Regions from separate parts of the Homo sapiens genome. Here region 2 is linked to region 1. Evidence: promoter capture Hi-C in human tissues and cell types (Jung and others, 2019). All regions are on one chromosome and are shown on one strand. The core of a region is centred on a gene start or on the middle of the fragment in contact, and the rest is flanking DNA. Distances in the headings are between cores, read along the strand shown. Region 1 holds the start of SEMA3F (semaphorin 3F). Region 2 overlaps RBM6 (RNA binding motif protein 6).

The links. Contacts are between HindIII fragments. The study calls those that stand out against the background at their distance.
Region 2: a fragment that was not itself captured here is called in contact with the fragment with the promoter of SEMA3F in region 1 in 2 of the 25 tissues and cell types used here (bladder and neural progenitor cells).

The regions. Positions count from the first base shown.
Region 1 is chr3:50,152,172-50,159,522 of GRCh38, forward strand. It overlaps SEMA3F (semaphorin 3F), which reads left to right and starts at 3,153. Exons shown (of 19, transcript NM_004186.5): 1 at 3,153-3,393. LOC124909484 (basic proline-rich protein-like) reads left to right here and starts at 2,499. Exons shown (of 2, transcript XM_047449434.1): 1 at 2,499-2,525; 2 at 2,890-3,618. The coding sequence starts at 2,499. The coding sequence ends at 3,618. It overlaps SEMA3F-AS1 (SEMA3F antisense RNA 1), which reads right to left and starts at 3,914. Exons shown (of 4, transcript NR_135301.1): 1 at 3,563-3,914. RefSeq lists silencers at 2,428-2,487, 2,498-2,637, 2,668-3,137. The HindIII fragment of the contact is 29,271 bases long and covers 1-7,351 here.
Region 2 is chr3:50,050,100-50,057,450 of GRCh38, forward strand. RBM6 (RNA binding motif protein 6) reads left to right here. Exons shown (of 21, transcript NM_005777.3): 8 at 4,236-4,296. Among named protein-coding and RNA genes, the nearest start is that of RBM5, 35 kb to the right of the region's middle. The HindIII fragment of the contact is 4,814 bases long and covers 1,041-5,854 here.

The DNA of each region.
Region 1 (7,351 bases), core at 1,903-4,402:
TTCCCTCTCCGATCTGGTGCTGCAGGGATTTGCTCTCTTATTTTTGCTCTCTTATTCACATGATAAAGATGCGTGGAGTTCCAGAAGTGCCCTGTGGGACTCCAGCAGGCATCCAGCTCCTGCGTGCCTATCAGGGTTGCAGGCCCTTGGCTCCATGTGGGCCCTGCAGCCTGGCCTTCCTGTCCTGGAGCTTTCCCACAGCCACTGAAAATGCCTTCTCCAGGCACCACAGCCTGGTGGCTCCAGGCCTCCCCCAACCCTCCCTACCTCCCCACTCTCCTCCCTCATGCTCAACTGTACAATGGGGACAACAGGGCCTGCTTCTCAGCCCAATTGTGAAGCACCTGGGGGTGAATAACCGCAAAACTTCCTGGCATGCAATGCCTCCCAACCTGGTATCCAGAGCTGGTTTTGAGGGGTCTGTGGACCTCTGAAATTGAAGACAAAATTGTGAAAAGCTATACAATATTCCCCTGAATAATATAATATACCTCGGAGATATGGCGGGTTTGGTTCCAGACCACCACAATAAAGCTAACATTGTAATAAAGCAACTCACAAATTTTTTTGGTTTCCCAGTGCATATAAAAGTCATGTTTACACTATACTGTAGTCTGTTAAGTGTGTGATAGCATTATGTCTAAAAAATGTACATATCTTAATTAAAAAATACTTTATTGCTAAAAAATGCTAATGAAGTGAGCACATGCTGTTGGAAAAATGGTGCTGATAGACTTGCTCGACACAGAGTTGCAACAAACCTTCAACTTCAGAAAACACAATATCTGCAAAACGCAATAAACCACAATAAAATGAGGTCTGCCGATATGTATATGCACACACACACACAAACTATAACAACATATTATGATGATACAAAATGCTCACCCCAGCACTGACACAGAGCAAGGGCTCAGTGTGGATTCACTGCTGCAATAACAATTTTTTTTGTATGATTATTCAGCCCTCTCGAATTGCTTAGGAAGGAATTGGCATTCCACCCCATGTAGCCAGGCTCAATTCTAGCTCTTTGCCCTCTTCCTGGCCCCCTTCCCTGGTCTCCCTGCCATTGAAGGCCTCTGTGTGCTGGGCCTATTCTGTGTGTCTGAGTGGAGCTTCATGAACAGATCAGTTGAGCCTCTTTCCTTCCCAACCCAGTACACTGGAGTCTCTGGCAAGTCCTGACAGCTCTTCCGTGGTAACCAGCATGATGCTAATGATGCTGGAGATAGTGATAGAAGTGGCCAGGCTATAAGGAGACCATGGAGGCTGTGAGAGGATGGAAGGGATGGTGTTGGAAGCCATAGAGATGGTGGCTTAAGCTGTATTGGTGATGGTGGTGCAGTGGTGGTGACCTCAGGGGTGACCCTCATACAGATGAGTGGGGATGAGGAGAGATGGATTGTCACAGTGTTTTCAATGAGGCGTGACAAAGGGGAGAGGTGCAGGTGCTGTCACAGCAGCTCCATAACTCCAGGATGGTGTTTGCTCACCTCAAATGCCCTGCCTGTGCTTGGAGCATGAGGCAGCACTCTAAGTCCTGAGTCAGGAGACCCTCAGCAGGATCCCTAGTGCCCAGCTCCACCTTGCACTTGGAGTCAACCAGTCAATGGGTCAGAGGGAGAGAGGTCTTTTCCTGGAGGTCTTGCTAGCCAGGGAGAGAAGTGGGAGGAGGAAGAAGGCGGAGAGGAGGAGTGAGAAGAAAAAGAGAAAGGAGGAAGAGGGTAAAGAGCAGGAAGAAGGAGGAGGAAGAAGAGAAGGAAATGCATGGGGTGGAGGAAGAGAAGGGAGAGGAGGAGAGGGCAGAGAAGGAAAAATCCAGGAGAAGAGAGGAGAAGGAGGAAAAGGAGGGAGATGGAAAAGAGGGAGAAGAGGAGAGAGGAAGAGGGAGAAGAGAGGGGAGAAGGAAGGAGAGGCAGAGGGAGAAGAGGAGAAAGGAAAGAGGAGAAAGAGGAGGGCACAGAAGACAGAACAGGAAGAGGATGAAGGAGAGGACAAAGGGCCAACGCCCCTGGGAGCCTCCGCAGGGTGCCCGGGGCAGGGCTGAGAAGTGGTCCTGGTGGTGAGGCCATGACCTTGGAAAGTTGGGTTGGGCAGAGGGTCCCTTCCTGGGGTCACGGTAGGCCCTTCTCAGTTGCTGAGCCATTGGCTCATCACCAGGCCATTTGAAAGCAAATGTCCCCTTGAGGAGAGAAGGTGCTAGCTGATCTGGCCTCTCTAAGGTATGGAACTATAAGGAGAGTCTGTGGGAGCTGCTGGCCTGAAATAAGGGCTGGCGATTGAGGCGATCACGGGGAGTCGTTGAATGGCTGGAGAGAGCTGTGTGGCTGGGCTGCCCCCGACCTGGCCTAGGCTGGAGGCTGAGCCCGCGGGAAGGTCCGGCGGTGCCAGCCGTCCCAGGGGCTGCACCGCCACCTGCTGAGCAGCCCGGGCAGTCAGGGGTCCTGCGCCGCGGGGCCCACGCACGGGACCAGGGGCACGGCCGGCGGCGAGTGGGAATGAGGGACGCGGAAGGGGGTGCTCAGGTGAGCGCAGGCTCGTTGCTCCCTGGCGCTGCAGCCCTTCTCGCCAGGGAGTTGAATGCCCGGGTAAACACCAGGCGCGATGTGTGCGGTGTATTCACAGAGAGACAAAGCCAGGGCGGGGCGGGGGCGCCGCCCGCGAAGCGGGGGCGGGGGCGAGGGGTGCAGACTAGTCTCCCCCGGCGCGGGGTGCCCACCGCCTGGGAACCCTGAGCCCGGCCCACGGACAGGTGGAGCGGGGGCGGGGCGGTGGCTGGGCGGGTCCCGCCCCGGGGGTGGGGCTGGGCGGGCCGGGCGGGGCGGGGCTGCGCTATGCAAATGTCGCCCACGGGCGGCCAATTGCCGGCGCTCCCCGCGCGGCTCTGAGCGCCCCGTCCCGCCGGCGGCCGCGAGACCAGAGCGAGCGAACGAACCGCGGCGGTCCGGAGAGCCCCGAGCGCAGCGCAGGACCTGGGTACGCCGCGAGGAACCGTGCAGCCCAGCGCGGCCGCCCGGCCCGGGTCCAGCAGCCAGGAGAGCGCAGCGCTTCGAAGCCGAGTGCGCGCCACCGCCCGCGCCCCGCGCTGGGGAATGCGCCCTCGGCGCGCCGGCCAGGGGGCGCCCGCAGCCCACCCCAGGGGAGGCGGCCCCGAGCGCCCCTGAGCCTTCCCATGGCCCGGGCTGGGGCCCGGGCCCTCGGCTGCTGACGCGCCCGAAGCCCGCGGAACCGGTTAAGCCGCGGCCGCGGCGCCGATCCCGGCTGAGGCGCAGCGGCGAGAGGTCGCGGGCAGGGCCATGGCCCCGGGGGGCCGCTAGCGCGGACCGGCCCAACGGGAGCCGCTCCGTGCCGCCGCCGCCGCCCGGGCGCCCAGGCCCCGCCGCTGCGGAAGAGGTGAGTGCAGCGGGAACCGGGAGGGAGCGGGCAGGCGGCCGGGCCACCCCGCGACCCCTCTGGGACCCGCGGCACTGCAACTCCGCAGAAGTGTCCGGGGAGCGGGTCTCGTCGAGCCGGGGGGCTGCCCGCGGACATAGGGGCAACAAGGCTGGGGTGGGATTCTTACCTGTCCTGGAGGCCCGGACCCCTTACCTACGGGGCGGCGTATGGATGTGTGGATGATGTGGCCTGCGGGGTCACCCATGTGCAAAGCAACTTTTTCCTGCAAGGTTCTGGGTGGGTGCTCTCATACACCCCCACCTTCACGCTTCTGGAGCGGGAGTTCCGATCCCCCTTCTGCCTCAGCTCTCTCTCCCATTAACGCCCGAGGCAGCGCTCTTCCCCGTAGATGCGCTTGCCCTACCTCAGTGTCTCTACTTGAGGACTGGCCAGCCCGAAGGGAAGCGGTATACTGGCAGTCCCCACGTGGGGGGTCTCCCACATCAGCAGAGTGGGAGGACCTCCAGTCCTGAGGCATTTCTCCCAGCATTGTGCCAGCCCCTTGACCCCCAGCTGCCACCTTGGGTTTGCTTTTACAGCAGAGTCCTGCCTGGATTAGGGGCACGGCTGTATGTAGTGTGTAGGTGAGCTTGGAGAGCCTGCGGTCAATCCCTAGTTTGAACCAGGGGTCCCAGTGGTGAAGTGGGCAGGGGACAGCGGGGGCTTGGCGGGGTTGCCCCCAGCAGATGGGACAGGAGGGTATCAAAGTTGGCCTAGGAATGAGGCAGTGCTGGCGGGAGTTGGCTGGAGCTGGGGCTGGGGGCCCCACTGGATAAATAACTCCTAATTTTTGAGATAGCTGTGTTTTGCCACCAGAACATTACTGCTTGGGAGAGGTAAGGGAGACGCCAACCAAAGACACCAGTATGTCCACCCTGAAGCTGGGCCAGGTTGGGGACCTCTGTCCTCCTGAATTCACCCAGATAGTCTCCCAGTAGTTATCCTAGTTGCAGAGAAGGGAAAACTGCACCCAGGGGTTGGGAGCCCCATCTCAGCCCAGGGAGTTGGATGGAGCTGAGGCCTCTTCCCAGGCTACCCAAGGGGTGTGCCAGGACCCCGTAGGGTATAGTGTCTAGGCAGGCGGGGGGCACAGGCATGCCTACTCCTGCTGCTCCCCCTTCAGCTCCGAAGGAGCCAGGCCCGGAAGTGGGGAGGTGGGGGCCGGAGAGAAAGCAGGGGCCAGAGAGAAGGCGGCAGCCCACCCAGCCTCAGCCCCTCGCTGCTCAGCATACCTTGGGGGGAGGATGGAGCCAGGCTCAGGTGACCTTGACTGGGAAACCCTGGCCACAAAAGGGGGGTTTCAGTCCCAGCTATGCTGGGGTGGCTCTGCTTCCTGGTCCTTGAGGTGTTGGGGGATGGGGAAGCTGAGGAGCCAAGAAGGAGACAGAGCTCTTGTTGAAGTGGGGGAGGGAATCTGAGGGGCTGGGTAGCGGGTGGGGTGCTGTTGATAATCTCCCCATGTTCCCCTACGGCCCCTGTTCCTGCCTCCCTTCCATCCAGGCAGTCCTCAGCTCGGAGGAGCCAACCTCCCTTCCTGGAGACAGGCTGTCCACCCCCACCCCCAACTCCAAGCCTGGGCGGTCTGGATCCGGCTGTACAGTTTGGCCACCTGGCCCCCTGTCCCATCCCAGGTGCCTCCGGACTCCTTCCTCTGGCCGCCTCTTCCCTGCACCCCTTGCCAGCCCCGGCTCCTCGTTTCTTTGTTCAAGCGTCTCTCCTCCGTCCCTCCCTCTCTCCTCCCTCTCTCCTCCTCCCTCCCGCCTGCCTCCCTCCCTTGCTCCCTCCCACCAGCCTTCCTTCCCTCCTTCTCTGCTTTCTTCCTGGTGGGCTCCCAGGTGGCGGTGGCTGTTCTTCCTCTGTCCACTGACCTGGGCTTGGTGTGACTTGGGGGCTTTTCTGGGGCTGGGGCTGGGTGACAGGCATCTCGGGACTGGCAGAGGGGAAGGCACTGTGGGTTTGCCCTTTCTTTCCCTCTCTGTCCTTCTTCTCCTTTTCTTCCTTCCCTCTCCTTCTTTCCCCCACCTGCCAGGCTGTCCAAGAGGGGACCTGGACTTGAGACTGAGGCCCCAGCAAACTTGAGCCCCTCCCCATTCACCTCTTTAAAAGGCCAAAGCATTTGGATGGGAAGTCCCTGTAGGGACCCAGTAGAAAGACTCCCCACCTCTCTGGACACATTGGGTGACTCCAACCCTGTCCTTGGTGACACTGACTTTGTCACCATGAACATGGATGAAGGAAAAAATGAGGTCATGGGGAGGGGGGAGGCGGGAGGCAGGTTGACAGGAGCCCCCGTTACATAGTATCGAAGCTCTCTGAGGGACTCAGACGGCATCTTGCGCCAGGACAGTATCTCCCAGCTCCCCTGAGCCCCACCCCACTAGCAGGTCAAGTTCTTGAGCAAACTCATGCTTGTAAGGACGTGTGTGGGCCTGCAAGTGTGAACGTGTGCATATCCACAGCTGTTATCAGGGGCCTCCCAGGTGCACCTTGAGGGTGACGGTGGCTGCACAGCCATTTCTCCCACCTGCCCCCACTTCTCAGAGCCTGCCATTCAGTCAGCACTAGCTTTGTGCCTCCCAGACCTGAGGAGGGGCTGGTTCTGATTCCCCCATCCCCCAGCTAGCCTCCCCAGGAGGCAGCATCTATGACAGGGGATCTGGAAGGACCATGAGCGGTGTGCCAGGCCCTCGGGAGAGAACATTCACACAGAGGGTACCGCGTAAGGAGTGGGCCAAGAGGCTGAAGCTGCACTTCCTGTCTGAGGAGCCATGAGTGGTTTGCCTTGGCAGGAGAGGCCAGGGCTGGGGGAGGTGGGTCTAGGGATGTCATCAGGGTCTAATGAGTGGGGCCTAAGAGTCAGACTGGAGCCTGGGCTTTGCCTCAGCATTGAGCAGCTATGGCAGGGGAGTCCCAGGCCATAGTACTGCCAACTCCCATCCCAGCATCCTAGAGATGGGCCTGGGGTCCTGCCTGCCACGGAAGAAGGGAGTACACAGGGCAGATCTGGGGGATGGGGCTCACATTTTCAGTCTCGATGCCCCCACCCGCAGTGCATCCGGTTGGGGGTGGTGGTAGGAGTTGGCGCTGGTTTGTGCCGGGAGGGAGCAATATGTTCTGACAACTGGTGCTGGGCTGCGTTTACCCAACAGCCAGCCTGCCTGGGGAGACAATATTTGAAAAACACAGTATTGAAACTTGGACCTGCTGGGGCTATGGGGGATTCTGAAGGTGGCAATGCCGCTGGCCCAGATCCAGCCCCAGGCCCACTGGCCATCCTAGCTTCCCTTCTTTGCCCTCTAGAGGCGGAGCTGGAAGTTTTCCCTGGCAGGAAGTCCTTCTGCCTGTCTGACCTGGGTCTCTCCTGCTTTGATTTTAGTACAAGTGGACTCTGCCATTCTCTGCCTTTCCTTTTCTGACTGGTGCTCCCTCTCTTCCATCTTGGGCTGTCTGCATGTGTCTCATTCCCCCACTCTCTCCTGTGCCTCCCCTCTACCGTAATAATCAGGTCCAGGTTTCTCTGTACTGGGAGAAGACCTGTGGCTGGAGCAGGCAGGGATGCACCCTATCTGTTCCCCATTCCTCCAGGTGGGAGGGAGAAGGAGTAACCCACTTTATTGGCCACAGATGCAGGGGAGAAAGGAGAAAGCATGCTGGGAGCTGGAAAGAGCCCTAAGATCACCTGGTTGGTCTGGGCCCTGTGAATGGAATTCAGCATGCCATGAGGGGTAGGGTTTGAGTCTCCAGCAGCCCCCATCAGTTCTGGTGACCCCAGGCTGGGGCCTATTGGTACTATCTCCCCAGACAAAGGCAGGCCAAAGAACGCACATGAGGTGTGCACACAGGGGCATTCATGGCCCCAGGCTGGGGGTGGAAGCGTGGAGGTACCCATCAACCTCTTTGTTCACCTTGGGTAGAA
Region 2 (7,351 bases), core at 2,198-4,697, 100 kb before region 1:
CAAGCGATCCTCTCACCTTGGCCTCCCGAAGTTCTGGGATTACAGGTGTGAGCTGCCATATCTAGCCTCAGATCTTTTTTAAACCCTCAAAAGGAAACCTCTTATCATTAATCAGTAACTTCCCACTTCTTCTTCCCCCAGTCCCCAGAAACCATTAATCTTTTTTCTATCTCCATGGATTTGCCTATTCCGGATATTTCATATAAATGGAATCAAAATATGTAAACTTTTCTGTTGGCCTTTCACCTAGCATGTTTTCAGAGTTCATGTATGTTGCAGTATTTATCAGTACCTCATTTCTTTTTGTGGCTAAATAATATGAATATATCACATTTTGTTCATCCATTCCTCAATTGATGGACATTTGGGTTGTTTCTACCCTGACTTTGGTGAATAATAGAACCTTTGTGTGCTAGTTTTTGTTTGAACAGCTGTTTTCAGTTATTTGGGGGTATGTATCCAGGAGTGGAATTGCTGAGTCATATGGTAATTTTATATTTAACTCTTTGAGGAACCATCAAACTGTATTTCTTTTATTTTATTAGCAAACCTTTTCATAGACCACAGCTGTACCATTTTATATTCCAGCAATATGTAAGGGCTTCATTTCTCCACCTGCTTGCCAACATTTGTTCTTTTCCCTTTATTTGATAATAGCCATCCTAATGGGTATGAAATAATATCTCATTGTGGTTTTGATTTGCATTTTCCTAATGACTTTGAGGGTTTTTTTTCATGTGTTTGTTGGCCATTTGTATACCTCCTTTGGAGAAATGTTCAACCAAGTCCTCTGCCCTTTGGAATTGATTTGCATGTATTTTTGTTGTTGAGTTATAAGAGTACTTTATATTTTCTGGATATTAATCCCTTATCAGATATATGATTTATAAATATTTTCTATGTGTTATCTTTCACTTTCTTGAGAGTATCCTTTCTAAAGAAAAAAAAAGAGAGAGAGAGAGATAAGGTGTGGCTCATGGCTGTAATCCCAACACTTTGGGAGGCTAAAGTGGGCAGATCACTTGAGCCCAGGAGTTCGAGACCAGCCTGGGCAACATGGCAAAACCCCATCTCTACAAAAAATACAAAATTTAACTGGGTGTGGTGGTGCATGCCTATGATCGCGGCTACTAAGCAGGCTGAGGTGGGAGGATCACCTGAGCCCAGGAGGTCGAGGCATCAGTGAGCTATGATAGTGCCACTGTACTTCAGTACTCCATCCTGGGTGACAGAGCAAGACCTTGTCTCAAAATTTTTTTTAGCTGGGTGTGGTGGCTCACGCCTATAATCCCAGCACTTTGGGAGGCCGAGGCAGGCGGATCATCTGAGGTCGGGAGTTGGAGATCAGCCTGACCAACATGGAGAAACCCCATCTCTATTAAAAATACAAAGTTAGCTGGGCATGGTGGCACATGCCTGTAATCCCAGCTACTTGGGAGGCCGAGGCAGGAGAATCACTTGAACCTGGGAGGCAGAGGTTGCGGTGAGCTGAAATTGCACTATTGCACTCCAGCCTGGACATCAAGAGTGAAACTCCATCTCAAAAACAAAAAAGAAAAATTTTAAGTTTATTATGTACCTATTAAAATTTTTTTGTAATTAAAACAAATGCTAATGGCGGTATTATTCATAATAGCCAAAAAATGGAAATAACCAAAATGTCCATTGGCTGATGGATGGATGAACAAGTTGGCATATCCATACAATGAAATGCTATTTGACAATGAAAAGGAATGAAGTACTGATGCATGTTACAACCTAGATGAACCTTGAAAATACTATGCCAGACACAGAAGACCATACATTGCACAATTCCATGTCCCTAGGGGTAAGAATGGGGGAGGTAACTCCACTAGATTTCTTTTGGGGTGATGAAAATGTTTCAGAATTAGATTATGGTGATGGTTGCACTATACATTTACTAAAAATCATTGAATTGTACACATAAAATAGGTAAACTTTATGGGGTTTGTTTTTGTTTTTAAGAGAGAGTCTTGGTTTGTCACCCAGGCTGGATTGCAGTGGCACAATCTCGGCTCACGACAACCTCCACCTCCCAGGTTCAAGTGATTCTCGTGCCTCAGCCTCCCAAGTAGCTGGGATTACAGGCGTGTGCCACCATCCCCAGCTAATTTTTGTATTTTTAATAGAGATGAGGTTTCTCCATGTTGGCTAGGCTGGTCTTGAACTCCTGGCCCGAAATGATCCAACTTCCTCGGCCTCCCAAAGTACTGGGATTACTGGCATGAGCCATCATGCCAGGCCTGTTTTATGCTATTTAAATTATACCTACTAAGGTTAGGATCCTAACTGCCACTCACTAACTGAAGTGTCACATACTTTATTCGTTGGCATGTATATACTCAGTTGTCCCAGCACCATTTGTTGAAGAGACTATTCTTTCCCCATTGGCACTTTCCCCATTGTTAGAAATCAGTTGACCATAATCTATAGGTTTATTCCTAGATTCTCAGTTTTATTCTGTTGATCTATATGTTTACAAATAGCACCAGTTACCACAGCAGCTCTCCTGTAGTAACAACTCTCCAATCCCAGTAGCTTAAAACAGCAAGCATATTCTTCACTCACATTACATGTCAGGGACTATGGGTTGTTTGCTACAGTTCTGTTCCACGTGGCTTCTCATCCCAGGACCCAGGCGGAAGAAACAGTCTCAATATGGGGCAGTGTCCCTCTGGCTAAGGGAGAGAGAGGTTCATTCACGCAAGCAGTGGCTCCTAAGGCTTCTCTTAGACCTAGTGTAGGTCATGTTCACTCATGTTTTATTGGTGAAAGCAAGGAAGGCACATGGCCAAGGCTGACAATGGAGAGAGGAAGTATACTCACCCTGTGGGAAGGCATAACAGCCATTTGGCAGTGGGCAGGGGTGTGTGTGTGTGTGTGTGTGTGTGTGTGTGTGTGTGTGTGTGTGTGTGTTTATAATCTGTTTATAGGGAAGGGAACAATGAAATAACTGACTGTAGTGATCTTCCTCAAGTGAGTTAACCTCTCTAGGCCTCAGTTTCCTCATCTACAAAATGAGGAGATAAGAGTACCCATTTCATGAAGTTTATTGGGGTTGTCAGGATCAATAAGTGATGACATATACAGTAGGCCAAATACATGGTATGTACTATTTAAGAATTAGCCGGCTGGGCGCAGTGACTCACACCTATAATCCCAGCAATTTGGGAGGCCGAGGCGGGCAGATCACCTGAGGTCGGGAGTTCGAGACCAGCCTGACCAACATGGAGAAACCCTGCCTCTACTAAAAATACAAAATTAGCCAGGTGTAGTGGCACATGCCTGTAATCCCGGCTACTCGGGAGGCTGAGGCAGGAGAATCGCTTGAACCCGGGAGGTGGAGGTTGTGGTAAGCCGAGATCATGCCGTTGCACTCCAGCCTGGGCAACAAGAGTGAAACTCCGTCTCAAAAGAAAAAAAAAAAAAGAATTAGCCACTGCTACTATTGTTATTGTTTTCTCCTCAACTCCATCTGGCAGACCTTTACTCGCCCTATAAGGCCCTCCTCAAATACCATCCTCTTTATAGTTCTTACTCTTTTATTTCCTGCCAACCAAGTTTCTGCCCCCATGGCATTTGGAAGCTCAGTGGCAAAAGTTCAGGGATTTCGGGGTTGGGCAGTGTGCTTGACTTTTTGTTCACATGTTCAGACAAAAATAATTACATTCACATTAAAAATGTCTCTTACCTTATTCTGGGCTAGTGAATGTTCCCTTTCAATGTCTTTTAGATAGCTGCCAGAGACACTATCTGTATCTCTTCCTCCTACCTTGTACCTCATTATCAGTGTTTGAGAAAGGAGTTGATAACTGAATTCTCAGTTCTAGCCAAATGTGAATGGGGATCTCATAGTCAGTTCAGGCCCAAGTTTTGGGTGCAGACTGTAAATGGCTTTGGGACAATAATATTCTATAAACCATGTAACAGTAGTTTTCTAGGCATATTTCCTATAGGAATCTTTATCCAGGGCAAAGGCATTTGGGCTGCACCAAAGTCCCAGATGCCTTGTTATAAGGTAGCTCTCAAACAGTAGCTCATCAGATCCCATCTGCCAGCTCTAATCAGTGGGGAATATCAGATTCTTTTTTTAAGCTTTGAGGGGATCTGGGATATGGCTTGTTTCTTTCATTTTTGGGGGGTTTCACTTTGTTAGATATACATAAGATTTTTAAAAATGTTTTCAGTCAAATTGATTTCCTTCTTCCTTACAGTGTAAGGCAAACATTGGTGGGCACCGATCTTCCTGTTCATTCTGCAAGAACCCAAGAGAAGGTGAGTGGCGAAAGTGGTAGCAGTTTTTATCTCGTGCATTGAGCAAAACAAATTTCATGTTTTCCTTGGCTTTGAAGAATTATCATCCCTAAATCCAAGTTGATCTACAAACCTTTTTTTTTTTTTTTGAGATGGAGTCTCGCTGTGTTGCCCAGGCTGGAGTGCAGTGGCACCATCTTGGCTCACTGCAACCTCCAGCTCCCAGGTTCAAGCGATTCCCCTGCCCTAGCCTCCTGATTAGCTGGGATTCCAGGCATGTGCCACCACGCCCTGTAGCCCGGCTAATTTTTTTGTATTTTTAGTAGAGACGGGGTTTCACCATGTTGGTCAGGCTGGCCTTGAACTCCTGACCTTGTGACCCGACCCACCTTGGCCTCCCATAGTGCTGGGATTACAGGTGTGAATCACTGCACAAGGCCTGCAAACCTTTATTTATTTATTTATTTTTGAGACAGAGTCTCGTACTCACCCAGGCTGGAGTGCAGTGGCGCAATCTCGGATCACTGCAAGCTCCGCCTCCCAGGTTCACGCTGTTCTCCTGCCTCAGCCTCTCTAGTAGCTGGGACTATAGGCGCCCACCACCATGCCCAGCTAATTATTTGTATTTTAGTAGAGACGGAGTTTCACCGTGTTAGCCAGGATGGTCTCGATCTCCTGACCTCGTGATCTGTCTGCCTCAGCCTCCCAAAGTGCTGCGATTACAGGCGTGAACCACCACGACCGGCCCAAACCTTTCAAAAGTGCAATTTGAGCTAGGCATGGTGGCTAACGCTTGTAATCCCAGCACTTTGGGAGGCCAAGGCAGGTGGATCACCTGTGGTCAGGAGTTCAAGACCAGCCTGACCAACATGCCGAAACCCTGTCTCTACTAAAATTACAAAAATTAGCCACAGGTGTGGTGGCACATGCTTGGAATCCCAGCTCCTTGGGAGGCTGAGACACTAGAATCGCTTGAACCCAGGAGTCAGAGGTTGCAGTGAGCTGAGATCTCGCCACTGCACTCCAGCCTAGGCAACAGAGTGAGAAAAAAAAAATTGCAGTTTGGTGCCCAACTTAACGTAACCTGTTAGTAAATGATTTCAGATCTTATTTTCACCAGAGGAAAGAGATAGGGTTGTGGGCTCCTAGGCTAAAGTGGCTAAGTGGGCAGCTGAGCAGAGGTCAGTATATTGTTATTTGGAATACATTTAAGGATTAAGGATGTTAGGTTGAAAAAGAGTCTTTATGACATCAGTCTGTGTGGCAAACCTTTCTCCCACTCCTACTTCTTTGAAGTTATTGGGAATCATTTGCTCTATTGTTTTCTCTTTTACATTCTGTAAGCATTTCAGGATTTTCAAGAGAAAAACATTTGTTAAAATAACAGTAAAAACATAAATAGGAGAAAATAATCAGGATGTGGGGAACATTTTATTATTTTAGAGGAATAAAACTACCAGCTTCTCAAGCACTTATCTTTAATGTAAATTTCTTTAGAGAAATTTCAGGTAGGCAACTTCGAAGAGTCAGACACATGCATCCATAACAACAGTCCTGTAGTCATCCCTTAAGGAAAGCCACAGCATGACCATAAAATATAGTTCAGTGCAGGGATTCAGGTAGCCTTCTGTTTGTTGCAAGGTTAGAGTTTAATGTGCCTACAAGGAGTTTCTTAGGTGGGCTTTTGTCCTCTTGTGGAGATTTTACTCTGGTGAAGACTGAAAGGCAGGTGTTCTGAAAATCTTTAGGGGAAGGCTGTGTATGTTCTAGAAACCAAACCAAAATGTGGGAAGGAGGATGAACAACTGAGATTTTTGCTTGTTAGGTCACTTCAGGTTAGGCAAAGTTGTGTTTTTTTCCCCCCACAAGAAACACTTTTTTTCAAAGCTATTCCAGCAAATGAATAGATAGTTTTTTGTTTTTTTTCTTTTTTTTTTTGAGACGGAGTCTTGCTCTGTCACCCAGGCTGAAGTGCAGTGGCGCAATCTCGGCTCACTGCAAGCTCTGCCTCCCAGGTTCACGCCATTCTCCTGCCTCAGCCTCCCAAGTAGCTGGGATTACAGGCACCCGCCACCGTGCCCAGCTAATTTTTTGTATTTTCAGTAGAGACAGGGTTTCACTGTGTTAGCCAGGATGGTCTCGATCTCCTGACCTCGTGATCTGCCCGCCTCAGTCTCCCAATGTGCTGGGATTACAGGCGTGAGCCACCGCTCCCGGCCATGAATAGATAGTGTATGAAAACCACTGGGCACCATACCACTAAGATGAGACAGCTTTAATCTGGAAACCTGTCACTGCTATTATGTAATCTCTATATTGCTCTCATATAATACCTCTTTTTGAGCCACATGGATTCCAGTGAACCCTCCAAGAATGAATTAGTTACAAGAATGTGCCCCTAATTATAAAACAAACTATAAAGACAAATTATCCTGCTGTAGTAGGACATTTGAAATAAATCATTTATATTTTGAAGGACGTCTGCCCATTATGTTTATTTGCATATAAAGGAGCTACGTGCAGATAGGGTCTGTTCCTAGCTTCACTGGAGGAGGGCCTGTGGTCTTACAGGATATGAGTAGCTGTTTGAGCACTGTAACACTGGAAGAAGCAAGGCTTCTAGATGTGTGTTTGGGATATGTGTTTCTACTAAACCTTAAGTAAGGGCCATATCTTCGGTAATTTTGTCCCCAGATGTGTTGTTATCATTGATTATGATAGTCAGGTTCAAGGTGTCATGAAGGATTTGTTATATTTAAATGTTTAGTAGGTGATATAGAGATTTCATAAGATTACATTTTTTAAATGCTTGGATAGTTTCTTCTGTGAACTATTTCATGTCCTGTCTCAGCTTCACTTAAAATATTTTGTCAGGAACTGTCAGAGGACTTTTTATTAGATATTTCTGAGATAATATTAAAAGCATTCCAGGCCGGGCGTGTTTGCTCACACCTGTAATCCCAGCACTCTGGGAGGCCGAGGCAAGTGGATCACCTGAGGTCAGGAGTTCGAGACCAGCCTGGCCAACATGGTGAAACCTCGTTTCTACTAAAAATACAAAAAATTACCTGGGCGT